Regions from separate parts of the Homo sapiens genome. Here region 2 is linked to region 1. Evidence: promoter capture Hi-C in 16 types of primary human blood cells and fetal thymus (Javierre and others, 2016). All regions are on one chromosome and are shown on one strand. Each heading gives the region's core, a stretch centred on a gene start or on the middle of the fragment in contact. The rest is flanking DNA. Distances are from core to core; before and after follow the strand shown.

Evidence for each region. The method cuts DNA at HindIII sites, captures the fragments that hold promoters and counts their contacts. A CHiCAGO score of 5 or more calls a contact.
Region 2: a contact is called between a fragment that was not itself captured here and the fragment with the promoter of SERINC5 in region 1, in 1 of 17 cell types (activated CD4 T cells). The highest score is 7.3, in activated CD4 T cells.

The regions. Positions count from the first base shown.
Region 1 is chr5:80,253,181-80,259,799 of GRCh38, forward strand. SERINC5 (serine incorporator 5) reads right to left here and starts at 2,868. Exons shown (of 12, transcript NM_001174072.3): 1 at 2,716-2,868. The coding sequence starts at 2,742. RefSeq lists silencers at 2,351-2,630, 2,741-3,180 and enhancers at 3,034-3,967, 3,968-4,901, 4,902-5,833. The HindIII fragment of the contact is 9,277 bases long and covers 1-3,394 here.
Region 2 is chr5:81,005,377-81,011,995 of GRCh38, forward strand. The region is part of intron 1 of RASGRF2 (Ras protein specific guanine nucleotide releasing factor 2); the gene reads left to right. Among named protein-coding and RNA genes, the nearest start is that of RASGRF2-AS1, 48 kb to the left of the region's middle. The HindIII fragment of the contact is 2,869 bases long and covers 1,099-3,967 here.

The DNA.
Region 1 (6,619 bases), core at 1,618-4,117:
ATATACCCAAAGCCAATGATGTCCCACTGTACTCACTCCTACAGCCATAGCCTAAATTAAGGTACCACGCTGTCTCCTCCTGGGACTACAGCAACAGCAGATTGCCAGGATTCGAGCTCCATCAGGAAAGGATTTTTGTTCACTGCCGAAGCCTAGAACACTGCTTGCCCCTAAGAGGCAAATATCCACTTAGGTTTTCCTCACCAACTGCTTCATGACCAACTCGAACTGCTTTCCTCACCTCCACTCTAGCCCGTTACAGTCCAGTCTTCACGACATCCCAATTATCTTCTAAGTGCAAATCAAACCACAGCTCGCCCCTGCTCAGAATCCTCCCACAGCCTCTCACTGCAACCAGAATTAAATCCAAAGTCCAAAGGCAGCTGACAGGTTCTGGCCATTTCTGGTCCTGCTCTTCTCTCTGACCTCATCTAAGACACCCCAGCCACCCTAGACTCCCTTGCCTCTCCTCACTGAGCAGTCTCAACTCCACAGGCATCTTCTCAGACTCCCTCGGCAACCCTCCTCAAGGCTGCTTACCACACGGCCTTCTGACAGTACCAGTACCATATTCATTGTTTCATTGTTTACATGTTTATGAATGATCTCCCCTGCCCAGATAGGCCATTGAGAGCAGAGATGCTTGTCTGACTTATGACTATATAGCAGGCTCCTGGCAAAAGGCAGGTGCCCACAGAAACAAACAAGAATTGGTAACTTCTGACGGTGCTGTGAGGTTTTGTTTGCTTTCCTTTCTTTTGAGATGGAGTTTTGCTCTTTTTGCTCATTGCCCAGGCTTGAGTGCAATGGCGTGATCTCAGCTCACCACAACCTCTGCCTCTGGGTTCAAGCGATTCTCCTGCCTTAGCTGTGTAGCTGGGATTACAGGCATGCGTCATCACACCCGGCAATTTTGTGTTTTTAGTAGAGATGAGGTTTCTCCACGTTGGTCAGGCTGGTCTCCAACTCCTGATCTCAGGTGATCCGCCCGCCTCTGCCTCCCAAAGTGCTGGGATTACAGGCATGAGCCACTGCGCCCAGCCTGTTTGCTTTTCTTTTAACTTCCTACCGCCCCATCCACAGGAAATCACAGTGTGATCACCATCACACAGCACTGAGGCCCACCACAGTGATGCCTCCAGCAGGCCTGGGAAAGCAGGGGTTAACTTTGATTTGGTTCTTTCCAAAGTCCTAAGAGGGGAGACTTTAGAAACCTGCTAAAACATCAACAGCAAAATAATTCTTTTACAAAACCCATTTGAATACTGGTAATTACAGAGCTCTAAATTAGGAACTTGGGAATGGCAGAAAGAGCCTCAAGGGGACTTCAAGGGACCAGGACAGATGCCCCTAAAGAGCTGTATCATTACTACGTAATAAAAAGTGTCGCATCATATTGGAGAAAAAGTATTTCAAAACGGGAATAAAAGATTTGCAGAGCTTTCTGAAAACAGTCTTTCCTGGTCCACCTTGTTCTCAAATACCTGGTAAGGTGGTGACCATTCTCATTCTCTTTCTCTCTCTGCCTGACACAGGGAAAAAAAATCATTTCGTCTCAGTCGTCAAAAGCCTCAATTTCCTCAACTCTGAAAAGGCCAGCTTTAATGTATGCCAAGCACAGTATTAGACCTCAAAAACCAAGACAGCTCCACGTGGCCACTCTAAACAGGACAGATTATCTGCCAGTATAATCGCCGGTTACAGAAACCCACAGTTTAACCACTCCATCACTTACAGCTGGCCTCGATTGTGGAAAGGCTGAGTGTCAGCAAGAACACCCCGAACCAGGATGCTCCCTAGAGTCTGATTCGTTCGTGAAAACACTCCATTAAAACTCTGTACCGAAACGCTGATAATCCACATGTAAAGGGAGAAAAGAGCTCCACATCCAAGAGACTCACCTACTTCGTTTTTTCTAACTCTGCAGGAAGGAGTGAAACCAGCATTACAGGGCTAAGACGTACTAATTCTACACTGATGCAGTAACTGGTAGGAGACATAATGTTTTAAGACATCATAGGTTTAAATAGGCGAGAGTTAAAAAACAGGTTCGAACAAGTTTATTTGCAAAGAGAGGCAGGAAGGTTCCAGCCCTACCCAGGCAGTCGTGCTAGTACCGAGCCAGGGTTGGGTCGGGAAATTCAGGAAGCAGGGCTGAGTTTTCCCTTCGCCCAGACCTGCGCCCGGTAGTTTGGAAGTCAGGCTTCGAGACATTCTCAAAGGTACAGAGCCCACGCTCGACTACGAGATGCCAAGCGCAACCTGCCTGGGTTGTTTGACCCGAGTTTTATTCAGGGCATAGCAAAGGAGACGGTGCCTAAACCCACTTTTCTTCCTGGATTCATCCGACAAGCAGAGTGGAGAGGGCTACGGAGCTCAGCGCTATTCACCAGTGCTCGGCGCAAGAGGCGACACGCCCCTGGAGCAGTCGGGATCCTCCGCCCGAGCCCGGCACGCCCCGCTCCACGCGGAGTCCCGGAGGCCGGACGGGAAGACCCCGGGGTAGCCTCTCGGGCTTCCCCCTGCCCCTTCCCGCCCGCCCAGGGCACAGGATTTCCCGGACGGCTGAGCGCCGCGGGGCCAGCCCGAGCGACCCACCCGGGCCCTACGTTCGGCCGCGGAGCTGGGAGCGCACCCAGGCAGGTCCTCCACGCCTGGACTCCTGGCCCGGTTCTCCGATCTGACAACCCCCGCGCTGCGCCCGGCCTCGCTCACCTGGCCCGCACAGCACTGAGCTGACATCGCGGCGGCCAATGCCGAAGGCGCGCTCGCTGGCTCCCCGCGCCGCACGGGCCCTCCTGGCTGCCTCGCGCCTCGAGCGCTGGGCTCAGCCGCAGCTCACACTTGAACGAAGATCAGCCTCGGCGAAGCGCCTAGGCGCCGAGGCCTGGGTAAAAACAACTGCGGCCAAGCCCCGCCCCGCCGCCGGCCCCGCCTCGCCCGCCCCCAGCCCCGCCCCGTGCCCGCCCCTTCCCGGGCGCCCGGCGGCGGAGCAGGCTCGACCCGGGCTCGCACTTCCGCTGGCGTCAGGCGGGTGGGCTGCTGCGATCACTTCCCGGTTGGGGCGCCGAGCTCCGGAGTCGGCCGCCAGCCTTTGGGCCCCACGCTCCGGGTCTGGTGCGCGGTCTGGCCGCGCTCGGGCCCTCGCCAAATGAGAGCGCAGCGCCTCTCCGCCTTCGGATCCAGAGAAAGAGCTTGTTGCTGCCTCTAAAAGGTTGGAGCCTTAGTAAGCGGTTCCTGCCTTTCCTGCACAGACCAGACCGCCGGGTGCTGGTCTGCGCTCTGCCGCGCGCCGACTGGGACAGCCCACCCACGAGATCCTTGTTCCTGAAATCCCTTTCCTTCCCTCATCTGCCAAGAAAACTTTCAACTTTTGGGCTCTCCGCGCCTCCCAAGCTTCCTCGAATCCCTGGGCCCTTGACTGTTCTGCCCTGATGGCACTTGGTGAGAGATCCATTGAGAGCCCTTTCCGTGCCTTCCTGAATATTGATATGTTTTCCAGCCTCTCCTCCTGCGCTGGCCCAAGGACTCATTTTCCGTCCCTGCTTCCTCACTAAAAAGAGGGTGCCCAATAATTGCTTGTTCCATACAGAAGGCAGGGAGGCCGTCTCTAGGTTTTCTCCCACTCAGATCTGCTGTCCTCACAGCCACCTCCCCAAGAGGAATGAAGGTATTTCTTTTTTTTTTTTCTTTTTTTTCTCTGAGACGGAGCTTCACTCTGTCGCCCAGGCTGGAGTGCAGTGACGCGATCTCGGCTCACTGCAACCTCTGCCTCCCGAGTAGCTGGGATTACAGGCGCCTGCCACCACGCCCGGCTAATTTTTTGTATTTTTAGTAGAGACGGGGTTTCACCATCTTGGCCAGGCTGGTCTCGAACTCCTGACCTCAGGTGATCCGCCCGCCTCGGCCTCCCAAAGTGCTGGGATTACAGGCGTGAGCCACCGCGCCCTGCCGGAATGAAGATATTTCTGTTAGTGCGATTTTTGCGCCAATCCCTTTGCTCTTTCAAATAAGCATTACCGTACCCATTTTAGCGGTGAGGCAACTGAAGCCCAGAGAGGTTAAATAACTTGCCCAAAGCCTCACAGCAAAGTTGAGGAAGTAAAACTGGGCCTGGAATCCACTCGTCTGATCCCCTGGCACATGACGCAAGGCTTGACCTTAGAGGGACTCGTTTCCAGACAGAGCTCTGGCAAAGGAGTGTCTTGGGCAGCTTAGGAGTAGAAGAGGAAAGGTGAATGGAAACCAGGCCTTGGGTTATGAGCTGCGCAGGATTTTCCAGCATCTCAGATGCAGGCGTTTAGAGAAAGAGATATAATGGAGCAGGCCCTACTCAGAGCCACGAAAAGGAATGAGGACAGTTGGCTCTAACTCAAAACAAAAATAGGGTAAACCCAATCAGTCAAGCGCAGCAACCTGCTCCGTGGCGATCTGTGACTCATCAGAAGCTGAGGCTCTCACCAGGACTTTCTAATGAGCTTCGCTGTTGGCTACGACCGCGGTCACTTCACTTCAGCCCTACTCCTGGCCTGGGGAAATGGGCAGGCCCCCTAGTAGCTCGGGGTGGGGAGACGGGTGGAGAGGAAGGAGGGGCGAAAAGGGAAGGCGCGAAATCTACAAATGTTTAAGCCAGCTGGAACTCCGATGCCTCTTTGCCTTTTAGGGAAATTGACTCGACTCGGAACTCGAGGACCTTTCACAAGAGACCACTGGGTTAGGGGGCAGAGCTGGTAATAGAATCCAGCGCTCCGAACCCTGAATCATGTCCTCTTTTTGCTGCTGAGGCTCAGGCCACAGCACCCCAAATTATGACTGTAGAATACCAAAATATGCTATCCCAAAATACACTTGTTTGGCACATTTCAAGCTGGTTATTCTGAGAAACTGCAGACACGGGAGTAGCTCTGAAAAGCTGTCCTTTTGTAAAGCAAATTTACATCTATAAAGGAAGTCCACATAGTAAAAGTATCTGTGTCAGGAAGGCAGCTGCTCAGAGAACTTTTATTACATGAGAGACTTTACATAACAAGGCAACTTTTTTTTTTTTTTTTTTTTTTTTTTTTGAGGCAGAGTCTCGCTCAGTCGCCCAGGCTGGAGTGCATTGGCATGATCCCGGCTCACTGCAACCTCCGCCCCCCGGGTTCAAGCGATTCTCCGGCCTCAGCCTCTGAAGTAGCCGGGATTACAGGCGCGCGCCACCGCGCCCGGGTAATTTTTGTATTTTTAGTAGAGACGGGGTTTCACCATGTTGGTCAGGCTGGTCTCGAACTCCTGACCTCGTGATCCGCCCACCTCGGCCTCCCAAAGTGCTGGGATTACAGGTGTGAGCCACCGCGCGCAGCCACAAGGCAACATTATTTACCATACATTTCCTCCACTAACCCTCCTATATCCTACCTGTGGTGCCTCCCCACTGTCCCCACAGAAGCCCCAAGCCCTTATTTATTTCTAGCTCAGAATGCTATAAGCTTCAATCATCTGGCCCTTCATGTTTTGTGAGATTCCTGTGCTGCTGCGTATGCAGGTAATTAAAACGGTTTTTCTTCTGTTAATCTGTCTTATGTCGGCCAGGCGTGGTGGCTCATGCCTGTAATCCCAGCACTTTGGGAGGCCGAGGTGGGCGGATCACGAGGTCAGGAGTTTGAGACCAGCCTGACCAACATGGTGCAACCCCATCTCTACTAAAAATACAAAAGAAGTAGCCGGGCGAGGTGGTGCGCACCTGTAATCCCAGTTACTCAGAAGCTGAGGCAGGAGAATCGCTTGAACCCAGGAGGCGGAAGTTGCAGTTAGCCGAGATTGTGCCACAGCACTCCAGCCTGGGCGACAGAGCAAGATACCGTCTCAAAAAAAAAAAAAAAAATCTCTGTTATGTCAATTTAATTTGCAATCCAAGTAAAGAACCTAGAAGGGTAGAGGGAAGCCATTTTTCCCTCCCCTACATTGCTAGTTCCATGCCAATGTGAGAGGACTCTGAGAATGTGGATGTCTGCCACCTGGAGAAAGAGTCTTAATAACCTGGGCACTTGGCCAGGCACGGTGGCTCACACCTGTCATCCCAGCATTTTCAGAGGCAAAGGTGGGTGGATCACCTGTGGTTAGGAGTTCAAGACCAGCCTGGCCAACATGGCGAAACCCTGTCTCTACTAAAAATACAAAAATTAGCCAGGCAGGGTGGTGGGCACCTGTAATTTCAGCTACTCAGGAGGCTGAGGCAGGAGAATCACTTGAACCCAGGAGGCGGAGGTTGCAGTTAGCCTAGATGGTGCCATTGCACCCCAGCCTGGGCAACAAGAGCAAAATTCTATCTCAATAGATAAATAAATAAATAACCTGGGGACTTGTAGCCTCTATTGAAAGGTACCAGAAAAGGATAAAGCCTGAGTTTTCAAGCCAGGAAGTTGCAAATTCTAACTCTACCAAGAAGTAGCTGGGTGACCTCCAAGCCTCAGTTTCCTCATCTTCAAAACCAGGTTAATAGTGTCAGAGGCATTTGAACCAGAGAGACTCCATCTTGAATAGGGACTGGGTAAAATAAGGCTGTGACCTGCTGGGCTGTATTCCCAGGAAGTTAAGGCATTCTTCGAGGATGAGATGGTGGGGGTCAGCACAAGATACA
Region 2 (6,619 bases), core at 1,283-3,782, 750 kb after region 1:
AGAACGCACTCACTATCACGAGGACAGCTTGAGGGTAATGGCTCCCATGATTCCATTACCTCCCACCAGGTTCTACCCACAACACATGGGGATTATGGGAACTGCAATTCAAGATACGATTTGGGTGGGGGGCACAGCCAAACCATATCAGTCAGTGTTTTTAAGATTTATTCATATTGTAGCATATTTGTATTTCACTCCTTTTCATGGAGAAAAAAAATCCCATTGTATGGATATACCACATTTTGTTTATCCATTCCTCAGCTGATGGACTTTTGGGTAGTTTCTGCTATTTGACTTCTATGAATAGTGCTGCTGTGAACATTCGTGTAGACATTTTTGAGTAGACATATATTTTATTTCTTTTGGGTACATACTGAAGAGTGGAGAGACATATTTTGCAGTACTTTTTTTCCTTTCTATCTGGAAGATTGAAGGGGAGTATTCCTTGGTGAGGTGGGCTCTGTCTGTGATAGAGAGGGCATTAAGTCAGAGGTAGGAATTGCTGATTAGAGTTCCAGGTCAGCGCCTGACTGGCCATGTGTTTGGAAGTTCACTCTGTTTCCTCAGCTGTAGAATGAAGTAGTTTTATCGGACAATCTTTAAGGTCGCTTCCAAGTTCAAATGTTCCAAGTTCAAACGTTTTCCTGAGTGAGATTGAAAGGCTTTCAAGATATGAAGGGAAATATTTCAAACAACTTGGACTTTAATATTTATTTATTTAATTAAGTTTTGTGTTTTTAATAAAAATAAATCTTTAAAAATTGTATGGCTATAGAACCAACCTTACTCAAATTTGTATTACCCAAGGACATCTACTTTAATATTTCGGTGTATTTCCTGTCGAATTTGCCCCTTTAGGTTGTTTAGTTGTTTATTGGGCTGTAGTCATGCTCAATGCACAGTTTTCTATGGGGATCCTGTTTTGATTGCCCTTCAGACTGGTCTTGATTTCACTTAATATGCTTCTAACTTTGGTTGAAGGACCTTTGAAAGTGAAAAGTCTTTTGAGTTAAGTGGTTTTGGTAAAGCCATGATAGTTTTGAAAGTGCAAAGGTGTTTCTGAAAGTATGTTACCTTCTAGAATAGTCAGTAGAAAGCTTCATATGTAGTAGGCAGAGATAAGGCTGTAAGTGTGTCAGAATCTAATAGTTCCATACCCCAGAGCAGCTAACCCACTTCTTCCTCCTGTGTTTTGGTGATTTAGAAGCCATCAAAATGCTTATTCCCTTTGCTGGGGTTCAGAAGCTGATGCCCCGAACTATGGTGCTTTGACATGCTGAACCGAGGAAGGAGCCTTGAGACCTCTCGGATCCCCCTTTCCCCACTTCTCCGTCTGCCCCAAAGCACAGGATAAAATTGTTCTCTGAAGTTCCCTTATCTGCCTAAAGTCCAGACCTGCTGAAGAAGAAAACAATTACTTCTGGTCACTTTCCTGAGTTTTCATTAACTGAACACATGTCTCAGAAAGAAAGATTCCAAGTCCATCAACACACTTTTATAGACTTGTCACAAACCATTGTCTGTTCTGCGGGCCCACGAGACATTGTCCCAGGCCATTGTATGTTCCTCGAGTCCATGGCATTCTCCTAAAAATGGTTTACTAACCCCCTAAAATAAGCCTCACTTCCCCATCTCCCTTTCTCCTCAGAAGGGTATATAACCATTAACCATCTGTACCTCATTGCGTGGTGGAGTAATCACTGTGTGATCCGCCTGCCTCCGTACACATTTATAAATGTGTATATGCCTCTTCTCCTGTTAACCTTCCTTTTGTTAGATGTGGCTTCTCATTCGGGAGGGGGTGTAGCTTTCAGGAAACCTGCAGAAGGTGAAGGGGAGGAGTTTTCCCTTGGCCTCTACACTTTCATAATGCTCAAAAAGTTTCTGATTGTGGTTTCAAATTATTTCCTGTGTTGGAGGAAGGTTGAACTTGTTTTTCTTTTTGCCTACTTTCTGGTTTTCAAGCTCAGCAACTTCATTAACTTTTCTAGCTCCTGAGAGACCACTCTGTGCAGTGAAGCAGGCTCTTCTGCCCTGAGGAAGGGGTTCATTCTTTCCCAGGGACCCTCTCCCTGGAGCTGCCTTGAGGCCAGAACACCTCCACACTGGCACCAAGTGTTTAGAGAGCCCTATTGTCAGCTGCCCCGGGATGTCATTTTTTCCTTCATGGTGAGGGTTAGTTGGCCATATACTCCCTCGCTTTCTTTTTTCCATTAAGAAAAATTCACGCCAACAAACTCAACTTTCTCAGGGTGGTCCTTGCATTTATGGTAAATATTGAAGGCTGATTTAGGACGAGGAAAGTGAACTATTCAGATCAGCTGCCCCTCCACGATAACTGCTTGACTTGCTCACCTAATCGCAGGTGCAACTGAGACAGAAGGATAACCATGTATTGTTCTTCAAAGGAGTGACCTCATCCATGGAGGAGTCACCTAGTAAATGCAAAATGCTGAGCAAGCAGATCCGATGCAGCTTCTCATTTGGGAGGGGGTGAACTGAAGAGAGAGACGTGAACAGGAAAAGCAATGGAAGCATCCTCATCCCTTGGCCATGGCAGTTATGGAAGGGTTCCAATACCCTCAGCTTCCCAGGACCATCCAGCAATAGTATTTATTGTCTTCATCTATGGTAAACACTTTCTGATAGGCCAAAATTGCACTGTCTCGTCTGATTTACAGAACCAGCTATCTCAAATGTGTAGTAATTGGAAAAAGTGGATGATGATGGTTTCAGTTTTCTTTTTCTTTCTTTCTTTCCTTTTTTTTTTTTTTTTTTTTTTTTTTTTTGAGACAGAGTCTCGCTTCTTCGCCCAGGCTGGAGTGCAGTGGCACAATCTCGGCTCACTGCAACCTCCTCCTCCCGGGTTCAAGCAATTCTCCTGCCTCAGCCTCCCCAGTAGCTGGGATTACAGGCATGTGTCACCACGCCCGGCTAATTTTTGTATTTTTAATAGAGACGAGGTTTCACCCTGTTGGTCAGGCTGGTCTCAAACTCGTGACCTCCAGTGATCCACCTGCTTCAGCCTCCCAAAGTGCTGGGATTACAGGCATGAGCCACCGTGCCTGGCTGGTTTCAGTTTTCATACAGCTTATTTTAGCACTTTGACACATCTTGCACTGTTACTTAATCTTATAATGTTATTTAATTGCTTTATGAGTGCCTAATTTAGCTTTTCAGCTAAACTGTAATCTTCTTAAGATCAGTATATGTGTGTCTATAAAATACATACCAGCATGACACTTTCAAAAATAAGATGGTTGATAAAATAATGGATAAAATGGATTCCTCCCCTCTTCCTTCTCTTCTTCCCTCCCTCCTTCCTCTCCCTTTTGTAGCACCTCCTGTCTCTTAGGCTGCTGATTTAATATTAGAAATGAGAACAGAAATGGCTAGGGTGGCATCTAGAACCATTATAAAATTCAAGGGCAGAATAGAATTTTGTAGACTTGATGATTTTTTGGAAATTTATTTTCTGGACATACTTCTTATCTATACAGGCTCCAGCCCATCTATTTCTTCCTTTCCGTGTGATCCATCCTTTTGTGGTTGATTGTCTCAGCAAGTAGAACTTCAAGTCAGAGTCCTGGGTTTTGGACTCATGATCTGGTTGGCTTTGCCACATAGATAGCTTTCACAACAGAGACTCACAACAGAGTGTGGCAGACCAGTGGGAGTCCACTACTACCCCTGGGCCTGCAGCTGAGAGCACATGCCCTGATGGGTTGTGGGTGATTGTCCTGCCTCTTTCAGCCTGTTTCCTCATCTGTAAAAGGGGAATAAATTATGGGCTCATGACGAGAACTCGATGAGAAAATGCAGGATGGATCTCAGAACAATGCCTGCCATATATTAAGCACTGAGTGGATATGTAACCATTTTCATGCCTAGATAGGCAGTTAATGAATATCATCATATACTGCCCAGGTTAGTGAACTTCCCTTATACCCTGAGAGCAGATGTAAGCTTCTAGAGGGTAGGAGCCATCAACTGCCTAGAATGTCCAGATATAGCATCACATATGGGGCCACTCAGTCGCTAAAATTGTGATGTGAGTGTTGTTCAGTAGCTTATTATCATGTCTGTCAGATGGAGCATCACATCAGACTTGGCAAACATGAGGAGCAAATATCCCTAAAGCAAGTCTAAAAACAAACTTCCATAAACCAAGTTATTCATGTCTTTCATCTGTTCTTGAGAATCTCCACCAATGGAGTAACCCAAAAGTCAAATAAAAAATTGTATATACCAAGATTTATAAGGAATAATTAAAAACCTTCCAAATGTTAAAATAGGCAAATGTAATTTAAGTAAATATTTAAGTAGTATATCATTTCTGTGTAACATTATGTACACTTTATAAACGTTTACTACAGTTTTAAGTAATATGGAAAAATTCTTAAGTTATCATGTGACCTGAAAACTATGCTGGAATAGCATTGCATATGCAGCATGAGCATGACTGTATTAAAATGGTTTTAGAAAATAGATTGGAGAGGCCGGGTGCGGTGGCTCACACCTGTAATCCCAGCACTTTGGGAGGCAGAGGCGGGCGGATCACAAGGTCAGGAGTTCGAGAGCAGCCTGGCCAATATGGTGAAACCTCGTTTCTATGAAAATGCAAAAATTAGCCGGGCATGGGGTTGGGTGCCTGTAGTTCCAGCTACTCGGGAAGCTGAGGCAGGAGAATTGCTTGAATCCTGGAGGTAGGTTGCAGTGAGCTGAGATCGTGCCACTGTACTCCAGCCTGAGTGACAGAGTGAGATTTCATCTCAAAAAAAAAAAAAGAAAAAGAAAATAGATTTGAGAGCTATACATCAAGATTTAACAGTGGTTGTCTTTGGATGATGGTAGGATTATGAATGAATTTTCCTCTCTAATTTTGCCTCTCTGTATTTTCCGTATTTATATATGTGTATTATTTTCACGGACGAAAAACTCAAACTTTTTCTTAAGAGGGAAATAATGTGCATAGATGGTGGACAGAAGCCATGGTATTTGGCTTGTATTTTTACAATGAAAAAAGGCCAAATGTGTAAGGCACAGAACTGAATTATTTGTTATGTATGAGAAGAGTGTGGTGTGAGCTCAATGAAAAACGCATTACTCTGGAGAGTTCGAGAGAAGTTTTGCTTTTTGAAGATTTTTGGAGAAGCAGCAAAAATGTAAAGTTCTAGGTAGTGCACATGAGCAAGTGCCAATTTTCTTTTCCAGCACCGAAGTTTGGTATTCTTAGCCATTCTGATTTTGGGTGATTTGAGACTGTCATTTTCTTCTAAAAGTCTGACAGCTGTAAGCTTTCAGCTATCAGCAAATGAGGTGAAAATGTATTTTTAATATTAAAAGTCTTCTTAGGGAAAGAGGCCCAGCAAAACCATCATTAGTAGTCACATTCAGGCAACATGGTAAGTGCCCTTCCTAATCCTGCGCCTGTGGTTTTTAATAGCCAGACATGTCCACCAGATGTGCTTCATGTTCTTTTATTTACATAAATGTTTCCAGTAACTCATTGTATATTTTTCTACTTCTAAATAAATGCATACCAAATAGCTCTCTTTTTCACATTGCTATGTTGCAGCATTGCGTTTGTATGTTTTAAAGCAGGAAAATGTTCAGTAAGCCCTGAATATTTTTCACATCTTTACTGCACATAGGACTGTTGACATATTTAAGATGTATGTGGTATACTCATTATGGCTAATTTGAAAAATGCACAAAATATATGGATAAGAAGATAAAAGTTACTCAGAGGTAACCACTAAATTCATTTTGGTATATTTACTTCCAGTTACTTTTATGAATACTTTTTCATAAATGTTACTGATTCTGTATTTTTTCTCTAGCTTACTATTTTTTTTTATTGCCTGTCCTATTTATGTTGGTACATGTAGATCTAACTCATTCTTTGAAACTATTTATTCATGATATGACTGTGTTATAGTTTATTTAGCTATCGCTTTATTGGTACACATTTAGGTTGTTGCTTCTTTTTTTACCATTAAACCAACATTACAGTGAATATTCCTGTATGTGCCCTTTGAGCATCTGAGTGAGTGTTTCACTAGAAAATAGTTACTTGGGGCCCGGCACGGTGGCTCATGCCTGTAATCCCAGCACTTTGGGAGGCTGAGGCAGGTGGATCACCTGAAGTTGGGAGTTTGAGACTAGCCTGACTAACATGGAGAAACCCCGTCTCTACTAAAAATACAAAATTAGCCTGGCATGGTGGCACATGCCTGTAATCCCAGCTACTCGGGAGACTGAGGCAGGAGAATTGCTTGAACCTGGGAGGCGGAGGTTGCCATGAGCTGAGATCGAGCCATTGCACTCCAGCCTGGGCAACAAGAGCGAAACTCCATCTCAACAAACAAACAAAAAAAAAAAAAGGAAAAGAAAATAGTTACTTGGAATTGGCATTTACATAACTTACATTTTCCTCATTTAGCATGTGCTTTCAGTATTTTTCTTTATCCATTTGCAAACATACACATTATATATACATAGACATTATATATATTTCTTTTTCTTTTAGAGTAAAGGGTCAGTTCAAAATTGCTCAAAATCTTGCTTTTTGTCACCTATTGACATAAATGCAGAAGCTCTACAACGTTGCTGG